6 separate regions of the Homo sapiens genome follow, and all the other regions are linked to region 1. Evidence: promoter capture Hi-C in 16 types of primary human blood cells and fetal thymus (Javierre and others, 2016). All regions are on one chromosome and are shown on one strand. The core of a region is centred on a gene start or on the middle of the fragment in contact, and the rest is flanking DNA. Distances in the headings are between cores, read along the strand shown. Region 1 holds the start of PIK3C2A (phosphatidylinositol-4-phosphate 3-kinase catalytic subunit type 2 alpha). Region 2 holds the start of IGSF22-AS1 (IGSF22 antisense RNA 1). Region 3 holds the start of SPTY2D1 (SPT2 chromatin protein domain containing 1). Region 4 holds the start of MISFA (mitochondrial sheath formation associated). Region 5 holds the start of LDHA (lactate dehydrogenase A). Region 6 holds the start of HPS5 (HPS5 biogenesis of lysosomal organelles complex 2 subunit 2).

Region 1 (4,053 bases), core at 843-3,342:
GCAGATCACTTGAGGTCAGGAGTTCGAGACTAGCCTGGTCAACATAGTGTAAACCAGTCTCTATTGAAAAAACACAAAAATGAGCCATGTGTGGTGGCGCGTGCCTGTAATTCCAGCTACTCAGGAGGCTGAGGCAGGAGAATCACTTGAACCCTGGAGGTGGAGGTTGCAGTGAGCTCTCGTGCCACTGCACTCCAGCCTAGGCGACAGAGCGAGATTCAAACAGAAAAAAATTGTAAAACCTGTGATGAAAACATTAAAACATGTTATTTGCAAAGAAAACTGCAGGAAACACGCATATAAAACACAAATAGCAAGACACTTTGATAAGAAAAAACCTACTTTAGAATGTATTAATTCAGCCAAAATTACGGAATTTATGGAAGAAACTCCATATGTGCTTTCTACCTACGTAAAATCACTTTTGAACTAAATCTGAGTTAACAAATAAAATCTCTCTATTCCCAGTTACATTGTTTTTCAGTATGTAACCACTGTCTTGATACTAAACAAATATCTTATATAAAAATAAAATCTGTATACTTCAACTAGGGTCCTTTCGTCTAATTTGCTGCTGTGAATAAGAGCACCATCCTGTCCAGATAAGGTTAGATCAAATTTAAAAAAAAAAAAAGCACCATTCTGCTGGGCATGGTAGACCAGCCTGGGCGACACAGTGAGACCCCATGTCAATTAAAAAAAAAAAAAAGAGCACCAACCCCAACTATGGCAGAGCTGCTAAAGGAGTCTCTTGTGGAGACTTGAACCACAAGCCAAGGAGGCAAAGGTACAAAGTCTCTCCTGGAATTAGTTCCTGGACTTCTGTGCAGCCTTCCCTCTTTCTACTATGTCTTCACCGTTCCCCTACAAACAGCTTTCTTCTTCTTGCATCTCTTATATGCTGTGGCCTTTGATGCTACAATAGATTTAAAAATTTTCCCAACAGAGCTTTTCTGCCTGAAACCCACCAGGAAAGATTTCAGGACATTCTTTAATAACTAATCTTGTTCAAAGAGGCAGGCCTCCTTCGTTTCACTTAATTCAAACCCCCACTGTTCAAAATAAGAATATAATTATAACCTCAATTTCTATCGGGCCAGTATAGGAAAAGAACTACAACAGGCTCTCTCTTCCACGTTATGTCCAGACTTTTTTCCTTAGTTTCTCCTTCCTCATTTCCCTCCTCAATCCCTCCTCCCCCAAAAAATAATTCCACAGCTAGAGAATGTCGTTTTTAAAGCCAGAAATTCAGTGAGGAAAATAAGTATGTGCCTTTTTCTTCAATTATTTATGATTCCTCCGTCACTCAGGAAGAGTTAAGCTAGTATTTTTTAATCTGACCGCTCTCTCAGAAGGATGATGCGCTAAATACACACTGAAAGAATAGTGTTCCCAAAGCAAGTGGATTCGCGGCTAAAGGCAACGCGGTGGGAGTGGGGGGTCCGGGAAGAAGAAAAAGTATCCTTGGCCCCCAGAGCCAGAGATGGGACAGGAGGTGAAAGAAGGGGCCGTCACTGAGAAGTACAACACACACACTCGCCAGAACTAACAATCTGCCAAGAAAATAGGACCGGCCACTGCGGCTCCAGCCCGGTCCCGCGGGACAAGGCGGGGGAGGGGGGCCGGCGGCCGGGGGGCCTGCCCTCCTTCTGTGGGACAAAACTAACTCCCTGGCGCACCTCCGCTCCCGAGAAGAGGGGCCTGGTGGGGACGCGGGCTCCTCGCACCTCCAGCGCAGCACTTGCTCACGGCCTGGGTGGAAGCAAGGCCCGGAGGGAGGGGGGAGTCGGGCTGGGCAACGCCAAGAGCACGGGATGGAGGGTCAGACGCGGGCACCCAAGGCACTGGGGGCCGCGACAAGAGACCCTTCCAGCCCGGGAACCCCGGGGCCCCTCTCCACCCTTGCAGAGCAGGACCCCGAATATCGTCCCCAGCCGCACCGACCGCTCCTCACCTCAAGCTGCCTGAGCCTCCGCCTCTACCACAACCTGAGCCGCCGAAGCCGCCACAGTCCGAGCCATTTTTCCCCTCAGCTGGCTCAGCCGCCGCCGAAAGCTTCGGCCGACTCCACAGCCAGCCAAGCGCAGCACGTCACTTCCGGACAGGGAAGCACCGCCTTCCCCGCCCGGACTTGTTGCGAATTGGCTGGCGCGGACGGCCTACCTGAGCTGGCGGGCGGGGCTTGGACGCTGCCGGGGTGGCGTGAGCAAGGGAGCTGGGGCGCTGGGGCGCACGGGCCCGGGGGACCAGGGTCTGGCTCTCTCCCGAGGAATGCTGAGCAGGCTCTGGACGCCTCTCCGTGCACACCCCAGACCTGGGGAGGGGAGCTCTCCGGACACCCCAGCTGGCCGCCCCTCGGGCCCTGAGTCCGAAGACCCGCTAAACAGGGCCCGGGCACTGAAGTACCCTATTGTTCTCATCCCCTCTCCCGGGACCCCGCACCCTCCTCCATCTAGGCTGAGGTTCCCAGATTTGTGTCTTGGCCCCTGGCGGCGCCGAGATTACTTTGTGATTGGAAGACTGAAAGGAACAGGCAAGACTTAAACTCGTCCACTCCAACCAGTATTTACCGAGGCCTCACGGTGGGTCAGGTGGTATACGGTGGGTAATTAGTAGCCTATCACGTGGTTTCTGTAAAATGCTTGATAGCACGTAAAACGCTTTCAGGTCGGCGTCTCGTTTCATCCTCACAACAGCCAGGTAAGGAAGATAACCCCCTGATAATAACTCACAGCCAGACGGCTCTTTCTACATTACAAAGTATTTTCACATGCAACCTCCATAATAATATATTCTTATTGAGAATTTAATGAGATTATGCTTGTAAAGCGTTTGGTCCTCACGTGTTAGATCTAAAAATTACGTAACCATGGGAAGATATAGGAAAATTATCCCCATTTACAGATGGGGCTTCTGGGGCACAAAGATGTTAAGGGGAGAGGAACGATTCCATAGCGTTTTACAACAAGATTGTCTTTTAAGCAGTAGGAGAAGGGGGTCCACACCATCCAGACGTTCACAATCTGATGTGGCAGACTGATTTAGGCTGCATTTCTCAGCCTAAACTAAAAATTATCAGCCTATATGATATACGCATAATTAGAAGGCTCTAAGAGAAGTTGAACTTTCAGCAAATAACTGGAAAGAAAGAAATTGGCCTGATTTGGCAGGGACGGGGGTTGGCGAAAGGGGGCTAGGGCAATGGGGAATGTGGAGTGGATGAATCCCTCATAGCGCTGTAATAAACATGCCTGCACCTCCGCAGGGATGGTAAAATTGGATGGAGTTTCTATTCTATGGGGAATTCTAGAAACAAATGTGATTATTTCTTACGGCTGTAGCTACTGGCTGTTGTACACCCCCCCCCCTTCCAACTCCTATCTTTCCCCCAACCCCGCCCCTCCTCTATGCACACACACTTCCAGGCAGGCTACACACTCTAGAAGAATGTCCCTTAGAAATCAACTTAGTTCCGCAGCATTGTTCTGCTTTATCTTCTGATCAAAGGAGGAATTTCTAAAATTGGCAGCAGCTCTTTCACAAGATTAAAAAGGGTGGGGAAAGTGATTTATCTCAGGGTAGCTTCCTAGCTTCTGCTCCAGATCTGAGTGTGCCTTCAGGAAAGAAGGAAGAGGCCTTGGGAGAACACTGAGTCTTCAGGAAAGAGTAACTATTTGTCTGTCTTTTTTTTTTCTTTTGTTTTCTTTCTTTCTTTCTTTCTTTCTTTCTTTCTTTCTTTTTCTTTCTTTCTTTTTCTTTCTCTTTCTTTATTCCTCTCTCCCTCTCTCTCTTTCTTCCTTTCTTTTTTTTTGATCCAGCGAGACAGACTGGATTTTTTCTTCTAATTTTTTTTTTTAATGAAACGTATTTCCCCTGAGTCTCAGCAGCAGAGGGCCCTGGTCCTTGAGTCACTTCCTTGTTGCAGTTCTGAATTCATTATTTTATTATAGCTTTTGAATGACTGATACATGGTAGGCTCTGATCAACCAAAAGGTTCCCAATAAGGTGAAGAGAAAGAAAAGGAGTTTGATAGTTTTCCAGATTCCAAAAAAA
Region 2 (4,053 bases), core at 690-3,189, 1.5 Mb after region 1:
AAAGAGCAAAGGAAGTATTCGTTATATTAATGATGCTGGCGACCAGGGAAATTCCAAACTGCTGGACTTCCTATGCAGGAAACCAGGAGCTGGACCCTGGGACCCTTAATCTTGGGTTGGCAGAGTGTGAAGGGGCAAGAGCTGCCATTTATCTAGCACTTAATATTTGCCAGACATTGTGCCAGGCAGTTGTGTACTGTCTCATTTAAGCCTCATAGTCCTATAAAGAAGATGAGAAAACAGGCTCAATGAGGTAGCTTACTAAGGTCACATGGCTGGTCAGTGGCAGAGCCAGGGCCCTGGGCCCATTTGCTGTGCTTACAAGCAGATTTGAGTTATCAGGGATCTCTTTAGCTGTGGAATGAAAGCTGGATAGCACCCACAGTGCCTTCCCTGGCCTAGTTCTTTTACACAGCTCAGCAGCCTCTCTGGAGATATTGTCTCAGTGCCAGACACTTAGCTAAGCACTCGAGAGACAGAGCAACAGGACAAGGTCCTTTCCCCAAAGAAAGGTATCTATAACTGGATAAAAAAGGTCTGTAACCATGGAGACCACAGCAATGGAGTGTCATGGAAGGTTCAGGAGTAGCAGAAGGTGAGATGAGAGGTGGGGGAGGGGGAAACCTTCTTGGTTTGGGATTTTACCATGAGAGGAAAGCTGGGGGAAATTTAAGCAACAGAAAGCAAGGCAGGCCAGCTTTGCATTTAGAGTTCATGCTGCTAGCTGTGTGGCTATGAAGACAGTAGACTGGGAAGGAATAAAATGCTTCCCCCTATGTGTGCACACATGAGTAGAAACATGGCATGCATGTACAAAAGGGAGGGTTCCCTTCGCTCCTTCCCTTGTTTGTGCCCCCCACCGGTCCTTATCCTAGACCAGTTTTAATTTTTATTGCACATCAGAATCACCCGCAAAATTTTGTAAACATATAGGTTATTTCCAGAACCGTGCCAGAGAGATCGTGATTGGTGAGTCTGGTTGAGTCCTGATCACCAGTATCTTTTTTCTGAAGGCAGGTCTAGGCTCACCAAGAGTTGCAAACCACATCTTATCTAGGGATTGAGAACTCTCATGTCTGCAGGGGCCAGGCATATAACAAATGACATCGAAAGGATGGGAGAGTGGTAAGAACTGTGGCCAATTAAGAATGTTTGCACCACCTGTTGGCAGTCAGATTAAAAAACGGTGCCAGCCAAATAGTTGACCAATGGCCCACAAGACCAGCCTTTTGCGCCTCTCCCCCTCCTCGAGGCCGGACCCCGCGGCGCCCTCACCATAGACGGTGAGCGTGCAGCTGCTGCGGTCCTTGCCCAGCTCGTTCTCCACCAGCACGCTGTAATCGCCGCTGTCCTTGAGCGTGCAGGTGGGGATGACGAGGGTGCACACGCCGCTGGTGGAGTTGTACCAGAACTTGGAGTTGGCCGTGATGTTGACGTCGCCCTTGTAGAGGGTCACTGTGGGCCGCGGGTTCCCAAGGAAGGCGCAGGTCATGGTGCAGTCCTGGCCGCGGAGCACCGTGTGTGGCTTGAGGGGCGTCACGAAGCGCGGCGCGTGGCGCCAGTCCTTCTTCTCGTAGGGCTTGAGCTTGGCGCTCAGGTCCTGGACTGCGCGGGCGGGGCGGGGCAGGCCGTGAGGGCGCCCCAAGGCCCCCACCCACCACCCACGTCTTACAGTTCAGCTTACACGGAACCCCGAGGACCTAGGCCACATTCCCAGCGCCACCAACTCTGGGGGCCCAATGTTACACTGGTTCTTAAGGGCTCCCCACCCGCCCCCAGGCCTCCCCCGACCCCCCAGCCCCGTCCCCAGCCACTCCAGGGTTCTGCCACCCAAACCACGCTTTCCCACACCCCTGGGGCCGAGATGTCATTCCAGCGCCAGCTTCCTGGACCCGGTTATTCCCAGCCTTTAACTCCGCCTCCAAGCTTCCCCTACGTCATATCAGCGACCACAGTCTCCCCTCTTATCCCTTTAGCTCCTCAGTTCGAGTTTCCCGACGCGGCCCCCACCCTTAACCCCTAGCCTCCAGGGATCCCAGACATCCTCCCGGCTCCCTAGAGCCCTCCCCTGTTCTCAGCCCCGTTAGACCCTCCCCTCAGAGCAGAACGCGTTTGCGCTCTATGTCCCTCCGCAGCCCCTCCACCGTCCTCTCTGCCCCCAAAGGTACCTCCCCACCTCCACTTTAGTCTCACCCCTAAGTACCCCGAAGAAAGCCAATATTTCCTTCTCTCCGCAGCGTCCCAGATATTAACCGTTCTATCTCAATGGTTTTCAGATTTTATCTTGCCTCTTGGGTACCCTTTGGGACCCTTATGTCATCCCCACCATCAGGGCACCCAGACTTAACCCTAACTGCAAGTCCCAGACTCACTCTGGTCCTTATTGATGAGCCAGGTGTCCCTGGAGTCAAGTGGCTCACTGTCACCGATTTCATTCCGAGCCACCACTCTGAAGTAGTACTTCCTGCCTGGGAGCAGCCCCGTCACTGTGTACTTGTTGCTGAAGACACGCTCGGCTGCCGTGTACCAGGTGGCTGTGCTTGCATCCCGCTTCATGATGATGTAGTGAGCCTCACCGTCCTCCTGCACATCTGGGCTGTGGTTCCAGGTCAGAGTCACTGTGTTGGGGACTTCCTCAAACAACCGTAGGTTTGTGGGGGGCCGAGGGAAATCTGGAAGAGTTGGAAGATCTGTCAGCGACCTTGGGGCACCTGAAGTATTATGTCCCCACCCCAGCCATCTGCCAAGTCCGATGGAAGATAAGATGGGGCAAGTCTCAGGCAGCTGGTGTCTTGGAGTCGGAAAACTATTTCTGAAGTCTGCTCTGCCATTTACTAGCCTCGTGACCTGGGGTAAGTTACTTATCTGAGACTTCTTTCCTCAATTGCAAAATAGAGCTGACAATGACTATTTCGTAGAAATAGTGGGTAAAGAGACTGGCATGTAGTTACTGTTCAGTAAAAATGAATCCATTCCTTCCTTGGGGGTTTAGAGCTTTATTTTAAAGCTTCCAGCTCTCTTTAAGCAGTCACCCCAATTTTTAATGGATTCATCTCCATTTGTCCCTCCTGCCCCTCCACCCATTTCTACTCTCTCTGCCGACCATACTCTGTATGATAAAGTCTTGCTCTGTGGTGTCAAAGAAATCTTCATGGCCCTAAGGCATGACTTTCCTGTGGTAGGAACTCAAGCGGCACTGGGGAGCTGTGCTTTGGAGAGTGTACAGGGATGGGTCTTGGAGGCCTCTGCCTTCTCTCCATACCTGCCACGCGCACATGGATGTCATAGCGTGCTTCTCCAAACTCATTCTGAAGCAAGATTCGGTACACCCCTGAGTCAGAGCGCTTGGTGCTATTAATGAGGAACTGGGAGTGGTTTTTGCTCTTGGTAATTGTCTCTCGGCCCTTGGTGGGAACGCCATCTTTCTGCCAGATCACGTCAGGTGGTGGTGAGCCCTGAGTAGTGACAGGAGATGGCACAACTGGTCACACAGATGATATTTGGGGGCAGGCCTTCCTCCATTGTCGAGGAGTTTCCTGCCAGGCTGTCGCACTAGGGGTCTGGTGAGGGGCAGAGTCAGAGTCAGAGTCAGAGACTGTGATGGCTACAATAGCCATCTTGGTTATGTGGACAGTGTATGGAGGTCAGGGTCAGGGACAACTCACAGAGAAGGCTGCATGGATGCAGAGGGCTGTCCCAGCGCGAACCACCATGTGACTCTTCAGCCGGGCACTGAGGTCAAACTTGGGTGCAGCTGAGATGGAGGAGACAGAGGTGGAGGCATGGATCTGTCTTTCAAGAAGACTCTGCTTTAAGCCTCCTCATCAAAGCCTTCCCAACCTCTCCTCCTTTATGCCCCCACTACAGGCCATACAGACATCTAGCTGCCCTGCAACCCTGTGAAGCATTTATTTGTTTTCTCATCTGTCTCCTTCTACTAGTACGCAAGACCCTGGAAGGCAAGTCCTTGTGTCTTGTTTCTATAACCCTAACACCTCCTTTTGAAATTGCCATTGCAACAATTATAACAGCGAGAAAATTATGACAGTGAAC
Region 3 (4,053 bases), core at 537-3,036, 1.4 Mb after region 1:
TCAGGCTGGTCTCAAACTCCTGACTTCAGGTGATTCTCCCGCCTAGGCCTCCCAAAGTGCTGGGATTACAGGCCTGAGCCATTGCGCCCATCTATTAAATTTTAAATTACTTTTTTCCCCTTTTTGATTCTTCTGTTATTCCAATCATAGATAATGCATATATTATGACATATACACATATTTTGAAATTTTCTGCTTTAGGATTATCTGTCTGCTTTTCTCCCAGCAGCTACTGGCTTTCAGAATAAGAAATGACTTAGTTCTGATTCTTCCACAGAACAGTACTGGGCATCAAAGCTAGTACTATCTTTGACCTTTACTGAAATTCAATAAGATCTAGAATGAAATACAGACCAAATTATGCAAAGATGAATGGTTACTAGACCCAATATTGATTCATCTGGAAAATTTACAGATGCTTCTAGAAAGTAAATCTGTTGATCTGGGTTTCAAAGGTTTGAGTCTATACCTTCAACATGCAAAGCTTATGACTCACGGCTTAGAGGAATGGTTATTCAGAGTTCTTGGGATAAGGGATGGCTGTGTGTGTGTATATATACATATATTTATAAACATAAATATAGACCTTTTTCAGATCAATATTTTCAAAGGGATAAAAGAATGAACTAGCCTCAGAAGACAAAAAAAAGCTGCAGAAGAGAAAAAAACGAATATTGCAATATACGAATATCTAGGAAATGCAGAGCACTTCGTCGGAGCTCAATAAATTCTAGCTGAATTGACTTTGAGAGCCGTTTTAGTTCTATACCTCACTGCTCAAACCGCAGGCATCACCATGCAACTTATCGGTTTACAGCTGTGCTGTGGGTACCATCTGAAAATCTGGAAATGATTAGCTTATGCAAAACAGCCATAACCCCCAGAAACCAGGCGCTCTCCACCACTTTACCATTTAAGTCTTACACCGCTCTTGCGACTGTAAGCGAACTGACAAACATCTACTGACCAAATGGGACCTAGATTTTAAACAAAGACTGAAATCTGGAAGGCTACAAGTAAACAGAAGCTGAAACTAGCTCACCTATTCTGTTGGCCAAGGATTTCGTGGAATCTGCTAAACTTCTCTTCCCAAAAGATGATACCTATCCCCTGGGAGGTGATAATTTAATCACCTCGGTGGCTGAGTGGGTGGGGCCGAGTCAGAGAATTCTTTCAAGAAATCGCTAAACGTTTGACTTGAAGATCGATGAGAAGCCAGCCAAAAAGCTATCAAGCCAAGGACCCCAAACCCCCTAACTCCCTTACATACATATTTCCTTCCCAATCTCTAGGCTGAAGTTTATGTGGAAGCCAAAAACTACCAGCGCTAGAATCCACAGCGTGCCAGGCACAGCTCACTCACGGCTTTCACGCAATTCTAGCTACAACACCCAAACCGCAAAGTCCCTGTTGCAGGGGTAAATAAGCCGGCGAAACCCATTCACAGGAAGGCTCCCGCGTCTCGTCCCAAGCTCTTTTCTCCCGAGTTCCCAAGAGTATAAACCCAAGAAAAGGAAATAAGGCGTCCGGGTCTTTCCTCTCCCGGAGCCGATAGGCGGCTGCCCAGAAGTTCCATGGGCCACACACATTCCGAACTTGGAAGACTAGGGTCCCCTACATTGATGCCCCAGCTGCTACTTACCGGCACATTGTTGACACCTTGTCCCTTGGAAGCTATCATGAGAATTTCTCTGAAGTCCATGTTGGGCCGAGGCGGGAGAGACTGGGCCAGGCACTCGGAAAGGACTGACAGCGCACCTAACCGAGGCGCCCAGCTACAGCCAACTGCACTGCCTCGGGAGCCCCACTCCCACCCCGCCTCTGCGGGACCACTTCCGGCGCCTTCCTATGCCGTCTGCCCGCCCCCTTCCCTCCACGGCCTATATCCTTTCAGGGCCGCCACAGCGCTCGCGAGTCCCTGCGTAACTTCCGCTTTTAGGCCGAGACACGTACAAACGTGATACGTGGCTGCTGGCGTCGACCCGAGGGGCAGGGACTAGGCATTTTAGCAACCAAGGGGGTGTGGCTAAGCGAGAGAGCGGCTTCCCTGGTGGCCCGGGCGCGCGGTCTTGTCATCTTGTTGCTCCTTGTGAGCGCTGGGTAGAGAAAGTGAGGGGGTAGAGGGTTTACTTGCCAGGCCTGGGTTCTCTGGGTGTCACGGGTAGGCGCTTAGATCCAAAACGGCGGCGCCACAACAGCTGAACAGACGGATCTCGAGCCGGGGTTTGGGCTACTTGTGTCTAGGCGCTCGCGAAGCTGCGCAGGCGCACACAGCAGCGCCGTGGTCCTGTCTTGGATGCCCATTACTCATCAAATTCGGCCACATGCCGTGCGCTTACCTCCTACTCAGATGCACGCGTGCCGGGGATGGGGGCACGCGCTTACTTCTTTTGCCCCGTTTAGAAAGTAAGTTTTATGTGGAGCAGCCAACCTGTGTTTTTGCTCAGGCAATGGATTAAGGAATTTCACATACAGACCCAGCCTTGACATAACTTTGGTGTACTGATGAACATATGCTTCATATTCATATTCATTGGGATCCTAGTCCTGACTTCTTTTGGAGAGTTATCTTGGATCTGTAAGGTCATTTCGACTTAGCAAAAACACTGAAAATAATTAGGCAAACCTGGGTCTGCAAGTGGGAACCCGCCAGGGGATTGATAGCAAACAGGTACTCGGGATCTTTTCGGTGGGATGGAAATGCCTCCAAACTGGATTGTGGGGATGGTTGCACTATACATGTACTAAAAATCGTACACTTAAGACGGGTGAGAATGATACAGTATGTAAATATGTCAAGCTGTTAAAACATGCTAGACAGGCCGAGCGCGGTGGCTCACGCCTGTAATCCCAGCACTTTGGGAGGCCGAGGCGGGCGGATCACGAGGTCAGGAGATCGAGACCATCCCGGCTAAAACGGTGAAACCCCGTCTCTACTAAAAATACAAAAAATTAGCCGGGCGTAGTGGCGGGCGCCTGTAGTCCCAGCTACTTGGGAGGCTGAGGCAGGAGAATGGCGTGAACCCGGGAGGCGGAGCTTGCAGTGAGCCGAGATCCCGCCACTGCACTCCAGCCTGGGCGACAGAGCGAGACTCCGTCTCAAAAAAAAAAAACAAAAAACATGCTAGACAAAGCTGCTGGCTCTTACTCTTTGATGGTTTAATGCTGCGAACGTAATTCAAAATCAAAGCTGTTGGAACTTTAAGTTATTTTGCGCCTTAAAAGAATGTTATTATGGAACCTGAGCTACATAACAGGCAGCTGCGTTTGTTCCTCTGATTATAGATTAGCCTTTCTTTCCTACATCGTTTTGTGAAAACACAGGGAGAAGACAGCCATGTACAAACCAAGGAGAGAGACCTCAAGGTAACCACACCTTGATCATGGAATTCTAGCCACCAGAATTGTTAAGACAATAAATGTCTGTTGTTTAGGCCACCTAGTCTGTGGTACTTTGTTATTGGCAGCCCTAGCAAACGAATACACTGGCATATGGTGTTTTCAATTAATGCCAACCATCATTTCTCAAGGAAGCTCTTCCTGAGCTATCTCAGGGCCCCTTTTATAAATTCTTACAGCCCCCCAGTATTTCCCTTCATGCAACATTTTACAGTTTGTAATTACATATTTGTTCTTTTTTTTTTTTAAACTATTGGCTATATCTGTGATAGACAGAGCTATGAAAATGGGCATAAGCCTATTTTACCCATCACTATTTCCATCACCAGCACAGTTCCCTGCTAATGCACATAAAAGTTGCAACAAAGATTTTTTGACCAAATTAATGAATCGATAAGTGGAAAGCTCCCAAGATTCAATATTGTAGTACTTAGCATACATTGAGCCATTACTATATGCTTAGTGCTTGACATGGATTATCTGACTTGATCATGAGTGTTGTATAAGGCATTTCCTGTTACTGTTTTATAGATGAAAAGCTGAAGCTTGAAGAGATGAAATTAGACTTATACTGTACCATTAGTCAATCGGAGAGCCAAGACTAGAACCCTTAGATTACCCAAACCAGACTCTATATTTCAGTTAGCCCATTTG
Region 4 (4,053 bases), core at 621-3,120, 1.4 Mb after region 1:
GAGTGCTAAGAAGAGGGATCTCCATGGAGAAAGCTCTGTAGATTTCCACAGGGGCCCTTATAAGTCTTTGGCTGAGTTCTGTCTGCACATATATGGGATAAAACTCGATGAGGCCTGGAAAAGATCCACCCAAAAGCAGTCGGCCAAACACTTCTTGGAGTTCCTGAAGGGCAGGGAATTGTGGAACATTCCACAGATTTGGAAGATCTATGCCGGGCACAGTGGCTCACACCTGTAATCCCAGCACTTTGGGAGACTGAGGCGGGCGGATCACCTGAGGTCAGGAGTTCGAGACCAGACTAACCAACGTGGAGAAACCCTGTCTCTACTAAAAATACAAAATTAGCCGGGCGTGGTGGTGCATGCCTGTAATCCCAGCTACTCAGGAGGCTGAGGCAGGAGAATCACTTGAACCCAGGAGGCGGAGGTTGCAGTGAGCCAAGATCACGCCCTTGCACTCCAGCTTGGGCAACAAGAGCAAAGCTCTGTCTCCAAAAAAAAAAAAAAAAAAAAAAAAAAGCTCTAATACAATCAGCCTCAGAGAAGGTGCTCAGAGAAAATGGTCATTAACTCAGCAGTGCGGATATTAACCCTAGAGTAAAGGCTGCTCCTGGCCTATCATAAAGCTTCAAACAAGCCTCAGAAGAATCAAACTGATCGCAAGTAACTTAAGTGCACCTTAGAATAAAATTTAACACTGTTGAATACAACAAAATCCAGCACTCGGCAATAAAATTTACCATGTTCAACATCTAATCAAAAGTTGTAAGACATTTAAAGAAGCAGGAAATATCACAACAGGCCAGGCGCGGTGGCTCATGCCTGTAATCCCAGGACTTTGAGAGGCTGAGGCGGGTGGATCACCTGAGGTCAGGAGTTCGAGACCAGCCTGGCCAACATGGTGAAACACCATCTCTACTAAAAATACAAAAATTAGCCAGGCGTGGTGGCGGGTGCCTCTAATCCCAGCTACTTGGGAGGCTGAGGCAGGAGAATCACTTGAGCCCAGGAGGCGGAGGTTGCAGTGAGCTGAGATTGCACCACTGCACTCCAGCCTGGGCGACAGAGCAAGACTCTGTCTCAAAAAAAAAAAAATTGTAGAGATGAAAAATACATTAAATGTCCATGATGTTGTAGCAGAAAAGCAAAAAATATCTTTGGTGACCTCTGAGAGGGTGTCTAATAGTGGGGTGGGGCTAGAAGTCAGAATGTAATGCATGGAAGAGGCGTAGATTGGAAAAAGCTTTGAGTATGGACCACTTGTTTAGGAAGTTTGGTCATAAAAGGAAATTAAGAAATAAGACAGGGAAGGAGCCACAGTATCATCTGGAAGTTTTTTTGAGGAAAGGACAGGGGTACCTGTGGCTTCATGATGGCCAAGAAAAGAGAATCAATGGAGAGGAACTAATCCAAGGTGATGAAGATGTGGATATACCATCATGCTGAGGATCCCCTTGACATGGGGAGAGGAGGTTTTGCAGGGACAGAAATAGAGACATCTGTCTCATTTACCTGTAATTCAGTTTGTTTCGTTCACATGTCGTACACCTAGCAGCAAAACACCTTTCCAAATCTCTGCCTCTAGTGTAAAGAGCCCAGCTGCCCAAGAGGCAGCTGAGTCCTAAGTCTTGGCCCTGATCTGGAGCATCAGCTATGTGCTGTAGTGCGGGTCACTTAGGCTGTAGTCTAAGCCTTAGTTTTCTGATTAGTGAAATGGGGTTAACAATAATGCCTACTTCATAGTGTTGCTGTTTGCTGCTCAGCTGCTGGTCTGGGGGCAGTGTCTCTGGTGTGTTTTGAGTCTGGGCCATATGGTCAATGATGTCACAATGCCCTACTAGATTTCAGCTTCTCCACTAGGGAGTTGTGGATCCTTTGGAGCCAAAGACTCGAACAGACATGCGAGACCTCTACCAACTGAAGGTTTCGTGAGCGCACTCCTTTGCCAAGATCTTGGTGAATAGTCTTTCACTGTGCAATTTTATCTTAGAAATTGTTTTACGTTTGATCATGATTGTGCTTGGCTGGATGTTTTTTGTTGGACTTGTGTGTTACATGGGCACGTTTCCAGAGTTGATGGTAAGTAATGGCTCTGCCTGTAAATCCCTGGTGGTCAGTCCTGTGCTGGCTCATCTTCCTGTCTGGGTTTTCTGACCAAATGGGAAAGATAGTTGAGGTCTCACCACTAACTGGAAGTCAGAATGTGATGGGAACAAAGTTAGTGTCCCAGGCTACCGGGCTACTTCCCATCCCACTAGGGACATCCTTTTTTATTTTTTATTTATTATTATTATTATTTTTTGAGATGGAGTTTTGCTCTTGTTGCCCAGGCTGGAGTGCAGTGGCGCGATCTCGGCTCACTGCAACCTCCGCCTCTCAGGCTCAAGCGATTCTCCTGCCTCAGCCTCCTGAGCAGCTGGGATTACAGGCATGCACCACCACGCCTGGCGAATTTTGTGTTTTTAGTAGAAACAGGGTTTCTCCATGTTGGTCAGGCTGGTCTCAAAGTCCTGACCTCAGGTGATCCACCCACCTCGGCCTCCCAAAGTGCTGGGATTACAGGCATGAGCCACCACGCCTGGCTGGGGACATCCTTTTTTTTTTTTTTTTTTTTTTTTTGGAGACGGAGTCTTGCTCTGTCGCCCAGGCTGGAATGCAGTGGTGCGATCTCGGCTCACTGCAAGCTCTGCCTCCTGGGTTCATGCCATTCTCCTGCCTCAGCCTCCCGAGTAGCTGGGACTACAGGCTCCCACCACCATGCTTGGCTAATTTTTGGTATTTTTAGTAGAGACGGGGTTTCACTGTGTTAGCCAGGATGGTCTAGATCTCCTAACTTCGTGATCCGCCTGCCTCGGCTCCCCAAAGTGCTGGGATTACAGGCGTGAGCCACTGCGCCCGGCCAGGACATCCTTTTAAGTCTTTTTTTGTTTCCCCCTCCCTTGCATATATAGCTGTACTTGTTTCAAAGCACTATGGAATTTGCAAGGGGTCTGCTGGAGACCGTATTTGACTTGCGGATTGCAGGCCAAGTGGATCAGTGGTTATTGGTAGGAAGGGGGACGGTAGGGATTGGTGGGACCTTTTAGCAGCCCTTCTGGTCACCACACAGAGTGGTTACCCACTGGGCCAATGAGTAGAGCCATCTCTGCCCTCAAATTTTCTTTCTGATTCAGCCTCCAACTCTGAAGTGGCAGGAGAGGTGGCCTGTTCAGGAGAGCAAAACACAACTGAGGAGGCGGGCTTTAGGTGAAGATCTGCTGCAGTAAGTGGGTGGTCAGGTCTGGTGGGTTGGATTCCTCCCTTTCCAAAGTACTTGGTAGCACCCTGAAGTCTCAGTGGAGAATGTTTATTCCTCTGGAAAATATAATAAACTGTGGAAGGGGAAATGATTTGGTGAGTACTGCTGAGGACAGCAGGCCAAAGTTGTCTATTAATAACCATGTCTCATAGGTGTTGTTTTGAAGACTGTTCCCATCTATTATTTTTCTCCTCACAACACTGTAATATATTATACTATTAATAGCATTCTTTTTTTTTTTTTTTTTTCTGAAACAGGTCTTGCTCTGCCACCCAGGCTGGAGTGAGGTGCAAGCAGTCTTCCCATCTCAGCTTCTTGGGTAGCTGATCCTCAGGCACATGCCACCATGCCTGGCTAATTTTTTTTTTATTTTTTTAGAGACAAGGTGTCACTATGTTGCCCAGGCAGGTCTTGAACTCCAGGCCTCAAGTGGTCCCCCAGCCTTGGCCTCCCAGAGTGCTGGGATTGCAGGCATAAACCACCGTGCCTTGCCAGGACCAGCATTTTTAACGTCCCTTTTGGCAGATACTGAAACTGGAGTTAACATTGAACTTGGGTTTAGGTCCTAACTTTGTGACTTTCTAGCTACGTGACCTTGGGAAAGTTTAATTAGTTTCTTTGAACTTCAGTTTCGAAGTTTCTTCTGTACAACAGGAGATATCACTATTTTTGTGAAGATTATATTTGGGAATTAATGTAAAGCATTTAATGCAAAGCTCAAAAATTAGCATTTAGTAAAATACTAACTTAACAAC
Region 5 (4,053 bases), core at 1,025-3,524, 1.2 Mb after region 1:
ATGAGTATGGGGATTACCTAGCTGGCTGCCAGCACCATAGCAGGTGCTCAGTAAATGGTATTTGTTTTATTCATATTTGTGGAGTCAAATACTGGCTGTTGTTCTGCCTAAGAAGCCTGAAGCTGTGCTTGGAGCAAGCTGTTGCTAGGTATCATAAATTAGGGGAATGAAGACTCTACCTAGTTTATCTTCACAGGTCATCTCAGAGTGCCCCAACCCAAGCCTTTCAGGTGAAAATTCTTCGTCTCCCCAGCCAACTTCAGCTCTCTGCCTTCTGCACACCTCTTCCCAGCAGCAGTGGTCACATTTGGTAGGCAGGCAGGGGCCCAGCCCTGACTGAGAACACTGTTGCAAAGACTGAGAAACCGGAAAACACTGTGGCAATCTGCCCTGCCCTGAGGTACTCTGAAGAATCAGTGGCCCACCCCTAAACTTTCCAGCTGTGTGTTTGAGGTGAGAGCCCCATTTCAGAACCTAGAGTGATCTTAGAATCTAGAGTGATGGGAAAACTGTTAGAACATGCAAGCATGCCCTGCTATTTTTTTTTTTTTTTTGAGACAGGGTCTCACTATGCTGCCCAGGCTAGTCTCGAACTCCTGGCCTCAAGCAGTCCTCCCACCTCAACCACATTGGTGCTGGGATTACAGGCATGAGTCACTGCACCTGGCCCCTTGTGCTATTTTGGAGCTGAGGTTAGAGTTTTCCGTCAAAACCAAGAAACTCAGTTATGGATCTATCTCAAAGCTGCACTGGGCTGCTGCTGTAGGTTCAGGGAGTAAGTAAAGCCATCCACCCCTTTGGGCTGAAAGTTCCAGCCCTCTAATTCCCTAATCATTTGGTCTTTCCCATGACTGGCTCCTTCCTGAGGCTATCTAAGACTCCTCATTCATTAACATTAAGTCAGGGAAAAAGGCTCTTTATAAATAACAAAAGACATTCCTATCAGAAAATTCAGGAAATTTTGGCATACTCAAGGGCTTACCAAATATATTTCATAATATACCCCACAGTGGGGAAGTATTGGTACAAATTAAAGAAGAGATGGAGGAGGGCGGGCTAGGCAATGGAATCAGCAAGAATACAGGCCCAGAGGTAAGTATGATAAGAAAACAAAAAATTGAGCTGGGCACGGTGGCTCACGCCTGTAATCCCAGCTCTTTGTGAGGCCGAGGCGGCCAGATCACTTGAGGCCAGGAGTTTGAGATCAGCCTGACCAACATGGTGAAACCCCGTCTCTACTAAAAATTACAAAAATTAGCCGGGCGTGGTGGCGCCTGGCTGTAATCCCATCTTCTCAGGAGGCTGAGGCAGGAGATTCGCTTGAACCCGGGAGGCGGAGGTTGCAGTGAGCCGAGATCAGCCCACTGCACTCCAGCCTGGGCGACAGAGCGACTCCGTTTCAAAAAAAAAAAAATTAATAATTAAAAAAAAAATCGCAGGGCAAGTGGGCGCGCTTGTAGTCCCAGTCACTTCGGGGAGCCGAGGTGGGAGGATCGCTTGAGCCAGAAGGTCGAGGCTGCAGGAAGCCATGATCACGCCACTGCCCTCCAGCCTGGGTGACAGAGTGAGACCCTGTCTCGAAAAATACCAAAAAACAAATAAACAAACAAAAAACCAAAACCAAAAAAACAAGCCACTGACAGTTCTTGGGTATGGTTGAGACTCGAGATGAGATGCCAGTGGGGTGGGCAGTAGAAAGTGCAGAATAAAATGTACATTTGAACTGAGTCACCCTGCAAGGCCTGAGAGGCCAAGGCTTCACTGTGAGTGGGAGCTGGTAGGCTTAGCAGCAGAGGGAAAAGCAGCGTCGAGTTTTGGAGGTCACTCGACTTAGGTAAGAACAGACTGACTGACTGCTAGGCATTTTCTTCCTTTCGTTCAACAAATATTTGTGGAGTGCCTATTACGTGCCAGAAGCTGTTCTGGACACTGAGAAACAGGGATGAAGAAGAAACAGATCCAAGCCTTCCTGAGAGTAACCTCCCCAGGTTTCATGGATGAGGAAACTGAAGGTCGTCCTGACTCAGGCTCATGGCTCCGACCCCGGCTTCTGTGGTTGGAGGGCAGCACCTTACTTAGACTCCCAGCGCACGTGGAGCAGTCTGCCGGTCGGTTGTCTGGCTGCGCGCGCCACCCGGGCCTCTCCAGTGCCCCGCCTGGCTCGGCATCCACCCCCAGCCCGACTCACACGTGGGTTCCCGCACGTCCGCCGGCCCCCCCCGCTGACGTCAGCATAGCTGTTCCACTTAAGGCCCCTCCCGCGCCCAGCTCAGAGTGCTGCAGCCGCTGCCGCCGATTCCGGATCTCATTGCCACGCGCCCCCGACGACCGCCCGACGTGCATTCCCGGTACGGTAGGGCCCTGCGCGCACGGCGCCAGAGGGATGGGCGGGTAGAGCCAACTGCCTCTGGTTCTGCTGGCCTCCGCTGCTCGCGAAGGGATTCCTGCTCCCGGGAGGTGTAGGAGCCGCTTTCCAGAAGCACAGCCCAGAGACGTCTGGGCGGCGGCCCACACAACGCATGTGTTCGGAGCTCGCCGCGCTCTGCTTTTGCTCTAAGCGGGAACCATGGCTTCTGGCCACGCTGGGGAACCGAGGAGGTGGCCGCACCCAAGCAGGGGTCGAAAGCCCGGGTGGATGCGGAACAAGGATATGATAGGCCTTAAGGGTGGGGGATACCTCTGGGCTCGAAATCGGCGGGCGGTGCAAAACTCGAGGTCCAGTTCTCGGAGCCCATAGAGCCAAAAAAGCCTCAGCTTGTCCGGGGCGGGTTCTTGAAAGACGGAAAGCGGCTGAGTACCACGCGGCTTGCATTTTTCTCTTGGGACGCTCGAGAGGTGGGCTCCGTGAGGGCAGCTGCTGCCTGCAGATTATAGGGAGCCCTTTGCGCATTTATTAAGAAGCTACTGGTGTATCTCGGGCTGCGCTAGGCACGGCGCATGCAAAGATGAAGCAGGCAGCATCCCAGCCCTTCCGCACCTCAGACGGTCAGTTGAGTAGGATCCGCCGGTACCAACTCCTCCTTTTAACAAATAGGGAGACCGAAAGCTAGGAGACAGTCAGGGATCTCTAAGTTCCCAGTGAGTAGGAGGCAGAGGTGAGGTGTAGAACTCGTTTTTGCATGTCTCTCGCCTCTAGACGCACCCTTCCCTCATCCCATGCCCTCCCACCTCCGCCCCTACATTAAAGGTAGCATTGGATCCCGGGGCCGTTCAGTGAAGCTAGCAGGTGTCCGCAGGAACTCCCTTCCCCCTGCCAGGCTAGAAACCTTACAAGGCTGTCTAGAAATAGCAGTGATTTGTAAGGAGAGACCCGGCTCCAGCTTGGTGACTCTGGGCTGACTGCCTGCCTAGAGGTCCTCTCGGATTTTTGCCCTTTGGAGTGGTGTCAAAACTAGACGTGATACTTTGGGGATGCAGCCTGTGATATTTCCTCCAGCGAATGCAGTGCAGGGTTGGATTAACAAGGTGGAAAGAATTCGAGGGTTCCACCAAGTAGCTATTAACTCTAGGGCTGCAGGCCTCAGGCCTTCTGCAGCTATTTCTACACTCCCTGTACTGAAACTATTTCTTCATACTGGGCCTGACAGGCCTTTGCAACAAGGATCACGGCCGAAGCCACACCGTGCGCCTCCCTCCCGGTTGGTTAACAGGCCCTGGTTTCTAGTATTGCGATTTAAAGTCTGGCGCTGGCTGCGCGCCAGACCTGGGAGGCTGCCAGCTAGGCTTCACGTTGCTGGCGTCTGCTTCGGGGCATTCATTAGGTCTGAAGTCTGAATCCCAGCTCCCTCCCTCTCACCCACTGAGCTGCATAGCTCCAGATTGCCTCTGCTTACGGGCGGGGCTTCTCAGCCTTCTGCCTTCTGGCCCGATGCCCGCTTCCCAACGGCCGGAGGCCGCTAGACTAATCGGCTTCGCCCTGCGCGCTGTAATGCGCATGCGCACGCGCACAAGTTCCTGGGCCCGCCCATCTTCCGGACTTGGGCGGGGCGTAAAAGCCGGGCGTTCGGAGGACCCAGCAATTAGTCTGATTTCCGCCCACCTTTCCGAGCGGGA
Region 6 (4,053 bases), core at 1,004-3,503, 1.1 Mb after region 1:
GGGACTGAAGATTCAAGAAAAAGATAAAACCATGGTACAGGATCCAAGAGATGGAAAGGAATGATAATATCATAGTGTCTCTTCTACTTGTGATCTTGAAACAAAGAAACTCTGAGTAGGTCATTTTGCCTTAATCTCGGTAAAAAGAGAATGTCCTGGAAGTTATAATATAATGCGGGGGTGTGCAGGGGGACACACCTAGTAAGTTCTACTGAAAAGAAAAAAAGAATTTAACAGAAATGAGAATGGAAAATAAAAACAGCATAAGCAATGCCAATTCTCAGAGAAGCTGCTGAATGACAGTGTTAAACCAACTTCAACTTTATACTTTATGTTTACTCTCCCTGAAATGACTGCTTCCCTTCCAGATTTTCTTATCCAAACATACCCAGCTTTCAAGATCGCACATGAGCCCTACTTCCTAGAATTCTCAAGATGGAAAAAGATTCATAGGTAATTCAGTGAACATGTCCACCTAATTCAGAAATTAGTTTTGCCCTAGATCCCTGAACATTTTCAGCCATGGAAAGAAAGCACTCACTCTCATGAAGCTGCCAATTCCAGTCCTCCAAAGGGCTCACTATTATAAGGTTCTTTTTAATACTATGCTGAAGCCTGATCACTTAGAGCTCTACCATTATTCCTAATTGTATGTAGCTTCTACAGCTGAAGGGAACAAGCTGTCTCTTTCCAAAACAATCCTTCTGTATTTGAAAAGCATTATCAGGTCTTCTAAAAATTTAACATTCCCAGTTTCTTCATCACTCCTGACATGACATTTTCCAACCCTCTGTTCCAGTCAACCTTCTACAGAGGCACTGTAGTTTGCCTAAAAATGAGGTGCCTAGAACTGAGCATAATACTCCTTAAGTAGTTAGATGAGCCCAGAATAGAGTAGAAACACTAACTTCCTGGATCTAGACACTAAGTTTCTATATTACAACCTAAAAACAGTATTAGTTGTGTTTAAGTGGCCATGTTACACATTGATTCAACAGAGCAAGTGGTCAACTAAAACCCAAAGAAATTGTTTACATAAATAAAATCTTCTTAGCCAGTAGCTACATACAGTAGAACTGAGCTCAAATTGAAAGCTGCTATTAATCAAATGCAACAATGGATATAAAAAGTACCTAGAAATGTACAAACAGTATAAAGAGGAACAGCAGAATGCTGATAATTGTTCAAGTTGCGTTAAGTGTACATGAGGGTTCAATTTATTATCCTACTTTTGTCTGCGTTTGAAATTTTCCACAATAAAATTTAAAAAATATATACATAATATTGTACAAGCCTTCAACAGCTCTATTTCTTGAAAATCTGTTATCTCCTCCCTGCTTCTTTTTCCAGCCTTATTTCCCATCTTAACCTCTCTATTCTCCAACTACATTGGACTCGACTCTTTTTTTCTTTTTCATTCCATAAACTTGCTGTGCCTCCATGGTTTAATATATGATGTTTATGGAATCTTCCCCCATTTACCAAAACCCTACCTTTCTGCAAAGCTGAGTTTAAATGTTACTTCTGTGAAGGCACTCTACCAAAAACTAAGAACATAGAAGTTGGCGACAAATGCTTAACCAAAGTAAATGAAACAACTTTTGGGAGACTGGCTTGCCCAAGGATCACAGAGTTCATAAATGGTAGAGCTGAGATTAGAATACGCGTCTCCTGAATCCAAATCTCATCTTTCCATTATCGTAAAATAGTTCAGTGTTTGTTGCTCACACATCAAATGCAAACATGTTTCTCTTTTGCCCCAGTAGGTGCGTGGAGGAAGAGGAGAAAGAAGTAAGAAAGATAGCAAAAATTGAAGAAATGAGAAGGGGAAGTTGCAGACTGCCTCATTTTCACAATGGGATCTTTCTATCCAAGAAGAAATGATCAGAAAACAACTCTCTGCCTCAGACAAATGGCGACTGACTCATTTATACATTCATTCATTCAACATTCTGAGTGCCTACTATGTTCCAGGACCTGAACACACCGCTAGAGACACAGGGATGAACAAAACACAATCCCTACCCACAAAAAGCTCCTTGCCTAGTGGAACTACTACCTTTTTAACAGCAGTAACTTTAATATCTTGAGATTTCTTGAGAGGAGACCCAGTAACCAATTTTCAAAGCCAGGCTCACAGACCAGCAGCCCGGAGGTCCCAGCCCAGCTCCACCACATCCAGGGCAGTACCTCGCAGCTCTCAGTAGATCGGATCTTGTCTCCCGGCTTAGCGCCGGGGAACTCACCGCGCACTAAGAGCGGAACGTGAACTTCAGTCTCCCCTCGCGTTCCTCCCCTTCCTTGCTGACGTCATCCAGGAGAGCCGCAGACTGGAAACAACGCTACTAACGGCACTTCCTCATCACGTGACGAGTCACGCCCCTCCTTCCGCGTGGTCCCTCCCCCTCAGGCCGCGGTCGCGATTACGCTCTCTACGGCCTGCGACCGCAGGGCCGTTGCGGGCTGGAGACACGGCGCCGACTGGAACCGGAGGAGCTCTAGGCCAAATGGTTGGGCCAGCCAGGATCCCAGGACCCTTCGCCGCTCGAGACCGGAGAGAGGAAACGAAACAGGCGGGAACCCGTGGGGGAGGGAGGGAACTAGCGGAAGGTGTCATGGCGGCCGCGCTCTTGAGTCACGTGCCCAGGGCCCGCCTTGCTACTTCCGGTCACGTGCCCTCAGACTCCTCGCAGCCAGCGATGGAGGCGAGACCCCCTAGTAACAGAGGCGGTGGCTACTGCTGCGGCCACTGGGTTTCGGCCTCTTCCCAGCAGCGGCTCTAAGAAGCGCAGCGGAACTCGACCGGATCCAACCCAGTTAGTTACTTCCTGTCTAGAGTTGTAGCTTCCACCTGGTAAGTTTAGACCGAAGAATGCAGGCGGGCGGGTGGGTGGGCGGGTGAGGAGCTGACAGGCCTGGGGGCCGCTGGACGGCGTGGATTCTACCCCTGTTCCCAGCGTCGCTGTCGCCGTCCTCCCAACGCCCAAGCCTGGCGTCTTGTTTGCCCTTATCCCGAGGCGAGGAAGAGGCGACCCCTAATCTACTTGTCTAAAGGAAACCTGCTCTTAAATTGAGAGCAGGTTTACCCAAAGCCAGGATCAGATTTGGCTTATGAGAATGAAGTGGAGGCCTCTCCCAGACAGAGAAGCCCTTCCCGTCAGGAAATGTGCTGTTGAGTCTGGGATTCTGTAAGAGAAAAGCTGTCACCTTGTTGTCTGCACACCTTTTGCTTCCACCTGTCAATCTTACCTCTCTTAAAAACCTTAACACGTGCCAGTCCACACACTCCTAGTTTTGGTCATTTGATTGTCGTGTAATGATGAAAAATAGACCATGAGTACCTGGATATATGTAATTATTTTGTAAATCCCCCAGTGTTCTCAAAGGCCAAATTAAATAAGGAGGTGACTTTTCTTATTTTTTTTTAAGAGACAGAGTCTTGTTCTGTCGTCCTGGCTGGAATGCAGTGGCGTGATAATAGCTCACTGTAACCTCGAATTCCTGGGCTCAAGCGATTCTCCTGCCTAGACCTCCCAAAGCGCCAGAATTATGCTACAGTGCCTGGCCCCAAATGACTCCTAAACTCCAATTTTAGCATCAGTAAAATGGGGATGGGGAAAGAAGATATGAAAAATACACCCTTTGTCCATTTGAAGACCCAGTCTTAAAAACAAAAACAAAAAAAAAACTGAGTGGTTTGAATGAAATGTGCTTTGCAGTGAGTATTGACTCCATACAAACCAATATCCAGACTTGTGATTTTCAAACATTTTAAAGGAGTGGAACAATTTCTCCCCATGAATTTTTATCTGGAACCCAATATATAAAGCAGCATGCTCTGGTGGAACTAAATTTAAAAGGGCCAGGCCCCACCACCCCACTTAACTTCTATCCTAGAGGCCACTCCTTGGAACACAGTTTGAAAACCACTGAACTGGACTTAGGTAATTAAGCCAAAGTTGCCAACCTTAAGATTTTTTAAAAGACAAAACCAGAGCAGTTGAGATGGAGAGGTCACAACCGCAGGGAAGGTAACCTCTAGTAGCAGGCCTT

Evidence for each region. Contacts are between HindIII fragments. The CHiCAGO score rates a contact against its expected background, and 5 or more counts as called.
Region 2: a contact is called between the fragment with the promoter of IGSF22-AS1 here and the fragment with the promoter of PIK3C2A in region 1, in 8 of 17 cell types (fetal thymus, activated CD4 T cells, total B cells and 5 more). The highest score is 20.7, in fetal thymus.
Region 3: a contact is called between the fragment with the promoter of SPTY2D1 here and the fragment with the promoter of PIK3C2A in region 1, in 5 of 17 cell types (fetal thymus, total B cells, erythroblasts and 2 more). The highest score is 12.6, in fetal thymus.
Region 4: a contact is called between the fragment with the promoter of MISFA here and the fragment with the promoter of PIK3C2A in region 1, in 2 of 17 cell types (M1 macrophages and M0 macrophages). The highest score is 7.2, in M1 macrophages.
Region 5: the fragment with the promoter of LDHA here is called in contact with the fragment with the promoter of PIK3C2A in region 1 in 10 of 17 cell types (fetal thymus, activated CD4 T cells, M0 macrophages and 7 more); the score reaches 16.6 in fetal thymus.
Region 6: the fragment with the promoter of HPS5 here is called in contact with the fragment with the promoter of PIK3C2A in region 1 in 7 of 17 cell types (total B cells, fetal thymus, M0 macrophages and 4 more); the score reaches 11.9 in total B cells.

The regions. Positions count from the first base shown.
Region 1 is chr11:17,205,894-17,209,946 of GRCh38, forward strand. PIK3C2A (phosphatidylinositol-4-phosphate 3-kinase catalytic subunit type 2 alpha) reads right to left here and starts at 2,093. Exons shown (of 33, transcript NM_002645.4): 1 at 1,955-2,093. RefSeq lists enhancers at 1,360-1,883, 1,884-2,406, 1,912-2,021 and silencers at 1,552-1,811, 2,162-2,241. The HindIII fragment of the contact is 7,601 bases long and covers 2,054-4,053 here.
Region 2 is chr11:18,704,542-18,708,594 of GRCh38, forward strand. IGSF22-AS1 (IGSF22 antisense RNA 1) reads left to right here and starts at 1,940. Exons shown (of 3, transcript NR_186353.1): 1 at 1,940-2,608; 2 at 2,737-2,852. It overlaps IGSF22 (immunoglobulin superfamily member 22), which reads right to left. Exons shown (of 23, transcript NM_173588.4): 19 at 3,666-3,754; 20 at 3,263-3,455; 21 at 2,373-2,672; 22 at 1,276-1,605. TMEM86A (transmembrane protein 86A) reads left to right here. Exons shown (of 3, transcript NM_153347.3): 3 at 1-244. The HindIII fragment of the contact is 1,081 bases long and covers 1,925-3,005 here.
Region 3 is chr11:18,632,556-18,636,608 of GRCh38, forward strand. SPTY2D1 (SPT2 chromatin protein domain containing 1) reads right to left here and starts at 1,787. Exons shown (of 6, transcript NM_194285.3): 1 at 1,643-1,787. The coding sequence starts at 1,702. LOC105376578 (a long non-coding RNA gene) reads left to right here and starts at 1,794. Exons shown (of 2, transcript XR_931097.3): 1 at 1,794-2,406; 2 at 3,325-3,438. RefSeq lists a silencer at 772-951 and an enhancer at 2,008-2,277. The HindIII fragment of the contact is 3,460 bases long and covers 483-3,942 here.
Region 4 is chr11:18,597,919-18,601,971 of GRCh38, forward strand. It overlaps MISFA (mitochondrial sheath formation associated), which reads left to right and starts at 1,871. Exons shown (of 4, transcript NM_001355570.4): 1 at 1,871-2,079; 2 at 3,174-3,262. The coding sequence starts at 2,011. It overlaps LOC112268073 (a long non-coding RNA gene), which reads right to left and starts at 1,629. Exons shown (of 4, transcript XR_002957242.2): 1 at 1,513-1,629. The HindIII fragment of the contact is 4,225 bases long and covers 1,242-4,053 here.
Region 5 is chr11:18,392,289-18,396,341 of GRCh38, forward strand. It overlaps LDHA (lactate dehydrogenase A), which reads left to right and starts at 2,275. Exons shown (of 8, transcript NM_005566.4): 1 at 2,275-2,348. RefSeq lists enhancers at 1,570-2,234, 1,881-1,970, 2,235-2,900, 2,281-2,370, 3,635-4,053 and a silencer at 3,131-3,180. The HindIII fragment of the contact is 13,104 bases long and covers 1-4,053 here.
Region 6 is chr11:18,319,887-18,323,939 of GRCh38, forward strand. It overlaps HPS5 (HPS5 biogenesis of lysosomal organelles complex 2 subunit 2), which reads right to left and starts at 2,254. Exons shown (of 23, transcript NM_181507.2): 1 at 2,060-2,254. It overlaps GTF2H1 (general transcription factor IIH subunit 1), which reads left to right and starts at 2,681. Exons shown (of 15, transcript NM_005316.4): 1 at 2,681-2,854. RefSeq lists enhancers at 1,752-2,701, 1,839-3,038, 1,929-2,228, 2,239-2,658. The HindIII fragment of the contact is 9,902 bases long and covers 1-4,053 here.